Linked DNA regions of Homo sapiens: region 2 is linked to region 1. The links are contacts of gene promoters, found by promoter capture Hi-C in human tissues and cell types (Jung and others, 2019). All regions are on one chromosome and are shown on one strand. Each heading gives the region's core, a stretch centred on a gene start or on the middle of the fragment in contact. The rest is flanking DNA. Distances are from core to core; before and after follow the strand shown. Region 1 holds the start of NEUROD6 (neuronal differentiation 6). Region 2 has its middle 73 kb from the start of NEUROD6.

Evidence for each region. The method cuts DNA at HindIII sites, captures the fragments that hold promoters and counts their contacts. A contact is called where the count stands out against the background at its distance.
Region 2: a contact is called between a fragment that was not itself captured here and the fragment with the promoter of NEUROD6 in region 1, in 4 of the 25 tissues and cell types used here (bladder, dorsolateral prefrontal cortex, hippocampus and 1 more).

The regions. Positions count from the first base shown.
Region 1 is chr7:31,338,571-31,343,113 of GRCh38, reverse strand. NEUROD6 (neuronal differentiation 6) reads left to right here and starts at 2,388. Exons shown (of 2, transcript NM_022728.4): 1 at 2,388-2,521; 2 at 3,825-4,543. The coding sequence starts at 3,846. The HindIII fragment of the contact is 16,561 bases long and covers 1-4,543 here.
Region 2 is chr7:31,265,460-31,270,002 of GRCh38, reverse strand. No RefSeq gene overlaps it. Among named protein-coding and RNA genes, the nearest start is that of NEUROD6, 73 kb to the left of the region's middle. The HindIII fragment of the contact is 4,282 bases long and covers 84-4,365 here.

The sequences.
Region 1 (4,543 bases), core at 1,139-3,638:
TTTTTTGAAAAAAAACAAAAGACTAAAGCATCCAAACAATAGATTAATAGTCAGAAAACCTGAACACTAATTCTGTTCCTCCACCCCGTCAGCACCAAAGGTTTTTCTTTCGTGTTCAAAGGCAGGAATAGCACAGCCTCAAATGTTTTTATCGATAAATTGCTTCTCATTTTTCTGCAAATGCCAAGATAAAATATAAAATCTACCCTTTCAATGAAGTACATCCATGGTAATTTTCTACTGGCATATCATGTCATCTATTCCTTGGATTTTGATTTTCATGTTTGTGATGCCTTTAATACAATGCAGCTTTTGGAGACTTTGCAAGTTTAGAATATGGTGCAATATACAAAATTCAAGACAGCACTGGCTGCTTTGTGGCTCATGACTCTGATACTTACGCTCCTTTACATTTAAAAATTAAATCATATGGGAGACCAACAAAATTCTGCAACTGGCCTTCCTATAGAAATTCTCTATGCTAATATAAAAACTGTGTGTACTTCTTGAATTAAAAGCCATCTGAAATATACTCAATGCACCCATTACCAAGTAATATATTCTTAAACAACAAATTTTACAATGGCTATGGTATATCTGGCTTTTTAAAAAACAGAAGCTAGGCCAACCTACCTATTTTAACTTAGGAGTTTATAGCCTGACTCTTATTTTAAATTTGCATTTTTTACTGGGCCATTAAGAGAGAAAAATTATCTGCTTTTACATATTTGATTCTCCTTTTTGCCAGCTTCCCCAACATTTCTAGAACTGTCCAGGAAAAGTCAAGCAACTTTTTGAAGAAGGTGGAAATGAGTGGGGTATGACAGAAGCAAAATTGAATTTAGTGTGAGGCCCTTGGTGCCAATTTGGATCCAAAGTGCATTAAAGCAGCAGAATTCTAAACCTTGCAAAACTGGGATTTATAAGGGGAATGCTAACACAGATTCAACAGTTACAGCTCTGCAGGGATTACTTTAATACCAAAAGCATACTCTCTCACTTTATAGAAAGAGATTACTCAGTTGCCAAACAACAAAGGTTGCGTTTATTTGTTTATTTTAAAACTTTTACTTATTTTTTTTAAGTGCACTTTTTACTTTACTGGCAGGCAATCCTGAAATCAAATGTCCTTTATAGGGGTGGGGGCACGGGAGAAGAGAAAACAGGAGGAAGGTGGAGTTTGTCTCTGCCTCCACAGTTCGTATTATCTATAAGGCTTTGCCAGCTTTGCTTAACTGTTTCCACCCTGCTTTTGTTAAGAAGAAACCAAAAGTGTGGAGCGGGGAAAAAAGATAAATCTGAAATACACCTGACAGGGAAAAACAACTGGACACTGATACAAGAACAAGAAGATATTTAAATTGATGTTGGTCTAGAGAAAAATGTGAGGACAAGATTTTTAAGAGAAAGAAAAAAATCTGAAAGTCAAAAAAAAAGAAAAAAAAACAAAAACAGGAAAGCTAATCTTTGATTAAAATACTCAGCAGAATGTCAGGGAGAGGAAGACAAACACCTAAGTGATAATTTTTATGTTTATTGTGTCTGAAATGAAATGAGAGGGAACAAGCAAGTTAACGCTGGGAAGAGATAAGGGACAATAAAAGAGTGAAGTTAGTGACTTTCTGCAGAGGACAAAGTATGTAGTTTGAAATCCTTAACAACGGACTTGCAGTGTCTCTGCAAAAGTTGGTGAAAGATACCAGCAAGTGTAGGAAGGGGAGTATTTGAGGATGTCTTTCACAGACCCCAGATGGAGAAGCTGTTCTTTTATTCCAAATGCCTAAGAAGCACAGAAGTCTTACATGTTAATAAGAGAACACAGAGACACACACTCATAAGTTACACGCTGTGAAACAAAACAAGCAAAGGAGACCTTTTTTGACCCCTGTTCACTTACACAAATCTTAGTTTGGTTAAACGTCTTAAGACCAGTTTCCAGCTCCTTTTCACGGCTTTCTTTCCCTGGGTACCCAGGTGCACAAATGGGATGGTGATCTTTACAAAACAACATCATCAACAACAAAAAAAACCTCTTGCTCACACAAAAGCCCACCTTGTAAATGAATGGAATATTAACGATCACCTAATACTTGCACCTTTGGCAGGGCGAAACTGAACACTAACACAGCTATTTCTACAGATTGCCAGTGAAACCGAAGCAGTTCGAGGAGAAATGCACCTACTGTACGTGAAATGCTGGTGCAGATTTTTTTCCTATCAGTCTAACCTTCTGTGTTGATGCATGAAGGCTGGTACCCACTTACAGGGATGCCAGATGATCAGTGCAGAATGAAGGTCCCAAGAGAGAGGATCACATGGCTCTCTCTGCCCTGTGACGTCACTAGCAGATGGCATGGGTACCAGCTCTGGCAGTTGGCATCAATGTCACTTTTTAGAGATCAATGAGATAGTGCAGATATACACAGATCTAGAGACTCCAGGAGACGATGCGACACTCAGCCTGAAAAGATTTGGAAGACCCAAAATGAAAACTGATTATTGAATGAAATTAAAACCTAAGGTAATATAAATAAAGATATACTTCAATTGATGCTGGCTTTGCATGCAAGTATTTAAAGATACAGTGTCACTGTCTTATAGTATTTATATGCTCTTTGCCATCTATAACTTATCATATTTCATTCTTATGATGTAATTATCACATACTTTCACTGCTATTATGTAACACTGCAAGTATGTGGACATTACTAAGAGTTTGTGTATGTGTTCGTGTGTATATGTGTGTGTTGAGGGGGCTGGAGATTGTTAAATTGAAAAGTCTCTGCTTTAATGTGCCTATTTGTTTGAAGACTTTAGATGAAAATACTTGCTGCTTCACCAGACAAAAACCAAAATGCATTTGAAACACAAATTATTTTCCCCTTTCATTTGGGATTCTGAACACACGTGCACAATTGCAGTCAGAATCCTTGGACCGTTCCTGTCAGATATTAGCTAGAGGGAGACTTCTATGGCTCGTAGAACAAAAACACTACGAGAGTGGTTTTTGTCCAGGATGATTTGAACAGCAGTAAACAGACAATTCTATTTGGAAAAAATTTAAATGTAAATAAAATCAGTCTCTATTTTTTTTAATTAAAAGAAATTGCTAGTGATTTTTATGTTTTAAATTTATTTATAGAGTTTATTCCAAATTAGCCTAATCCCCTTTTCTTTTTGAAGCCTGGGAAAATAGTGCCCTTTTACATAATTCTTTACTGATCAGAAAAAATCAGTTGAAAAATTGACTCTGATTATAATCTTTTCTTTAAATTTGTATATTCCCACACCCACTTATCTAAATTCACAGTTGTGTGATACAGCAAATAAAGTTAAGGTTTTGTTTGTTTGTTTGTTTGTTTTAAAAAAAGAACACAAATTTGTCAGCTAATGGAGAGATAGTCCATTTTAAAAACTGGTTTATCTTCTCATTTTGTGCTCAGGGGAATTGGAATTAATGAAATTCTGCATTGCAATTTCATGTTTTGCATTTGCTTGAATTCCACAATCTTTTTTGGGGGTATTAAAATCCAGTTTAAAGGCAAAGAGAAATGTAGATGGTAATGATATCACAATAATTATATGTTTCATTTTTATTTTCTTTTGATAATTTGCTCATATAAATAATCCTATTGAATGCATCAATGTCTTCATAATTACTTATCTTCACAAACTCAAAATTATATTTAATGTTAAAAAATCAGGCCCAGAATCAGTCTTTTTCACGTGTTTTTGTAATCTTATGATTAAATAATTAAATATGTTTTAAGTGTATAAACTTTAAAAATGAAAACTCTTTAAATATTGTGCTGGCATTTTTTCAGGTAATTTAAGATTAGAGAACCATGTTAACACTACCGTTTGATGAGTCTGTTGTAATGCCAGAATCCCAGATGTGCAGAAAGTTTTCTAGAGAATGCGAGGACCAGAAGCAAATTAAGAAGCCAGAAAGCTTTTCCAAACAGATTGTCCTTCGAGGAAAGAGCATCAAAAGGGCCCCTGGAGAAGAAACCGAGAAAGAAGAAGAGGAGGAAGACAGGGAAGAGGAAGATGAAAATGGGTTGCCTAGAAGGAGGGGTCTTAGGAAAAAAAAGACAACAAAGCTGCGATTGGAAAGGGTCAAGTTCAGGAGACAGGAAGCGAACGCGCGCGAGAGGAACAGGATGCACGGCCTCAACGACGCTCTGGACAACTTAAGAAAAGTGGTCCCCTGTTATTCTAAAACCCAGAAACTGTCCAAAATAGAGACTTTACGACTGGCCAAAAACTACATCTGGGCACTTTCTGAAATTCTGAGAATCGGCAAGAGACCAGATCTGCTCACATTCGTCCAAAACTTATGCAAAGGTCTTTCCCAGCCAACTACAAACTTGGTGGCAGGCTGCTTGCAGCTCAACGCCAGGAGTTTCCTGATGGGTCAGGGTGGGGAGGCTGCACACCACACAAGGTCACCCTACTCTACCTTCTACCCACCCTACCACAGCCCTGAGCTCACCACTCCCCCAGGGCATGGGACTCTTGATAATTCCAAGTCCATGAAACC
Region 2 (4,543 bases), core at 975-3,474, 73 kb after region 1:
CTGTAATCCCAGTTATTCAGGAGGCTGAGGCAGGAGAATCACTTGAACTCTGGAGGCGGAGGTTGCAGTGAGCCGAGATCATGCCACAGCACTCCAGCCTGGGTGACAGAGTGAGACTCCATCTCAAAAGAAAAAAAAAAAGAAAAGAAAAGAAAAGCTGTGTATAATAGTCACTAAAATACTTAAGAACAAATCTAAACAAGGTTTATGTTTATTACTAAATACTTAGTATTTAGTAATTAAATACTTAGGAGTACTTAGGAATAAATCTTAACTAATTAGAAATTAAATACTTATGATAAATCTAAAGAAAGAAGTAAAAGACTCATATACTTAAAACTACAACATTGCTGAAAGTAATGTAAAAAGACAGCCTACTGAATGGGAGAAAATATTTATAAGTTATATACTTAATAAGTGATGGATACTCAAAATTTATATTTTAAAAACTCCTACAACTCAACAACAAAAAGTCAAACAACTAGATTAAAAAGTAGATGAAGGACATGAATAGACATTTCACCAAGTATGATATACAAACGTCCAATATACCCATGAAAAGATGCTTAACATTATTAATCATTAGAAAAATGCAAGTCAAAATGACCATGGATAGCACATCACACCTACTAGGATGGCTATAATTTTTAAAAAGGGAAAATGGCAGGTGTTGGCAAGGACGTGGAGAAATTGGAAGCCTCATAAGTGCTGGGGAGAATCCAAAATGGTACATTTTATGTAGAAAACAATGTGGCAATTTCTTAAACAGTTCAAATAGAACTACCATATGACCCACCAATTTCACTCCTAGGTGTATATCCAAAAGAATTAAAAGCAGGGACTCAAACACATTTGTGCACTGATGTTCATAGCATTATTCACAATGGGCAAAATGTGGAAACAATTCAAATGCCCACCAACACATAAAGGGAATATGCGCATGATAGTATATTATTCTGCCATAAACATGAATGAAATTTTGATATATGCTACAACATGGATGGTCCTTGAAAACATGCATAGTACAAGAAGCCAGACACAGGATAAATATTGTAAAATTATACTTATATGATGTACCTAGAACAGGCAAATTCAAAGAGACAGGAAATAGAGTAGAGGTTACCAGGGGCTGGGAGGTGGAAGGAAAGGGAGTAGTGGACATAGAGTTTTCGTTACAGATGATGAAAACATTTTGGGTATGGATACTGGTGATAGCCACACAATGTTGTGAGTGTATTTAGTGCTACTAAATCACATACTTACAACTGGTTAAGATGATAATTATGTTATATATATATTTTTTCCACAATAAAACATTTCAAGGAATTTCTTTTCTCAGAGGCTTTTTTATGAATTGCCAAAAGGGGCAAATATATGATACAACATAATTTTTGCAGAAAATTTTATGTGAATGTCGTGATATATAGTCTGTGAAATGTTGGTCATCTACAACAAATCTATAGAACAGTGTGTTAACTTGAGGCTTTAACTGCATGAAAAATGTTCAACCTCCCCCACAATAGAAATAATGCAAATTAAAATTATAATGAGATACCATTTCTTAAGCTACCATTGACAAATGTCAAAATTAAAATAACACAGTATGTTGTTAAGCTGTGGGAAAATAGGCATGTTCATATAATCTTTGGAATATAAATTGGTATAAGTTCTACAAAGGAAAATAGGCAATGTATATCAAAATACAAATGAACATTCCCTTTGATTAAGCAATTTTATTCTAAGACTTTGTTTTATATATATTTGTATATGTGTGCAACTGTATAGATAATGCACATAGAATTATGTACATACGAAGTTACCATTAATTATACAATTTATAATGTACATATAAGTTACTGCTTTATGCTTTGCAATAGTAAACATTGGAAACAACCTAAGTATCCATAACTAGGTCCTGCATAAAGAAATTTTAGAATAGCTATACAATGGTATACTATGTAGCTGAAAAAAAAAAGAAAAGGAAAAAGGCATTCCATTTGTGACAGGGATTAATTTATAGCAGACCAAACCTCCCACTAATAACAACTAGAATAATTAGATTAAAAAGAAATTTGAAGGCAACAGAGGATTACCAAGGTAGCCAGAACTTGAAGGGCCAAGATCCTTAGGAGACAGGAAACTGAGATGACTCAAAATTGTACAGGCAAAGAAGCTGAGAAAAGGAGAAAAACAGGCTGCTAAGAAACAGAGGACAGCTTTTAGCAATCTCAAGATCTAGTGAGAAAAAAAGGTGGAGTTCAGGGCCACTAAGATATCCAGGAGTTGAGGAGCTAAGAGAAAGGAAGCAGATGTGAGACTGAAAATATGCAGCTTTTCCCCTTGAAGCATTTGCTGATTCCTGATTTCGACAGCATAGAAGAAACAAGAGAAGCTTGTCCTTCAAGAGAAGCTTAGAACAAGAGAAGCTTAGAAGAGAGTGGGAGCCAAGAAGTTCAAAGCTTTTGGCAGTCTCACAATGCTAGGAAGATATTTTTCAATGAAGTTAAGGGCCTCTCAAGAAAGACGGACAGCGATAAACACCCCAAGTTTTCATTTGGGATCCCTTAGAATCACAACCTAGGAATTAGAGAAAACACAAATAGACCAAGCATTACAAAGTCTGAAACACAACCTTAAAACTGTTTAATCCCTGATTGGAATAGGGTAATTTTCCCTATTCTGACTGTCACAAGCTAAACTCATAGAGAAAGATGTCAATATTTCATACACAATGTCTGCCATACAATTATTCTTTTCTTCCAAAAGAGAAAGAATAGAACAGAAAATAAACAATAGGAATAAATCTAAAAGTGATCCAGACAACTGAGTTTTCATAAACGGGCTTTAAAATGACTATTAAAAACATGTTTAATAAAATAGAAGACATGATGGTAAAATAAAGCTAAACAATTAGAACAATCAAGTTGAAAATCTAGAATGTAAAAATAAACATTTAATCTAGGAACTCAATAGGTGGATTAAATATTAAATTTGACACAACTGTACAGAAGATTCATGTTTTGGAAGGTGGGTCAGTAGAAAATATCTACATTGAAGAACTAAAGGGAAATTTTTGGAAAATTACAGAAGAGATCATATACACCTACGTGAGTTTTCTTTATTCTGGAATATTGGGTCTTTATGACTTGGATACCTTGGTACTCGCTAATGATTCAAGTGGCTATACTTTCGGTTTGTTTGAATTTTATCTGGCTTTTCTAATTATTGTTATCAGGAGCCTGTAGGAAATCAAGAAATAGAAAAAACAGAGAAAGAGGACTATTGAAAAAATGAAACAAATGGAAAAATAGTAATATAAAAGCTTTAAGTTAAAAAATCAGTAATTACATATATTAAAAATAAACTAAAAATTCCAATTGAAAGAAAAAGATTTTAAGACTAAATAAGGATGAAACCCAACTATATGTTGCATAATGAAGACACACTTCAAATACAAAGGCATAGAAAGTTTGAAAATATGGAAGAAGATGGCATACAAATATTAACCAAAATAATAAAATATTTTAAAGCTGGCATATCTAAATTCATATAAGATTAGTAGAATGTAATGCAAAAACATATTACCAAAGATAAGAAATATTTCATAATGATAAAAGTGTTACTTCATCAAGAATATGTAAAAAGAATAAGATAAGCTTAAATATGTAAAGCAAAAATCAATAGAACTAATAAGATAGAGAAACCCACAGTATTAGATTTTAGATTGAGATCCTTAACATACCTCTCTCAGTAACTGATAGAGAAGCAGACAAAAGTTGAGTAAAAATTAGAAATTTTGAACAAAGTGGTATAAAAATTTGAAACCAATAACTATATACAAAAGCAGAAAGTATGTATGATTCTCAACTTGTGTTTGGAACACTTACCAAAATGACCATATGCTGTACTATAATCAAGCCGAATATGTTCTCTGATCACAGTGGAATCAAGCCAGAAATTAGTTACAAAGAACCCATAAAATCTCCAAATGTATGGAAATTAAGAAGTACTCTTTGACATAACACAGGATTAAGGAAGAATCTCAATGGAAATGTTTAAAAATGTTAGACTGAAATAATAAAAATATAACATGTCAGATCTTGGGGGATACATGTAGAGTCACTATTCAAAAGTAATCTATAGCCTTAAATGCATGTTTTAAGAAATAAGAAAGACTGAAAATAAGTAAGTGAAATATTAGTCTCAAAAAAGTATAGAATAAGAGCAAATTAAACCAAAAGAAGAAAGGAAACATGTTAAATAAGAACAGATACTAATGAAATAAAAAAATAGAGTTAATCAGCAAGGTCAAAAGTTGGTTCTTTGAAAAATCTAATAAAATTTATAAGCCCCTAGTAACATTGAGTTTTTTAAAAAGAGAGAGAAAAGGCACAAATTACCAATACTAGAAATAAAAAGGAATCACATTACGGATTCAACAGACTTCAATAAATAAATAGGATATTATGAATAACTTTCTGTCAATAAATTTGAATATTTAAGTGAAGTGACAAACTGCTAGAAAAACAAAATTTACTAAAAT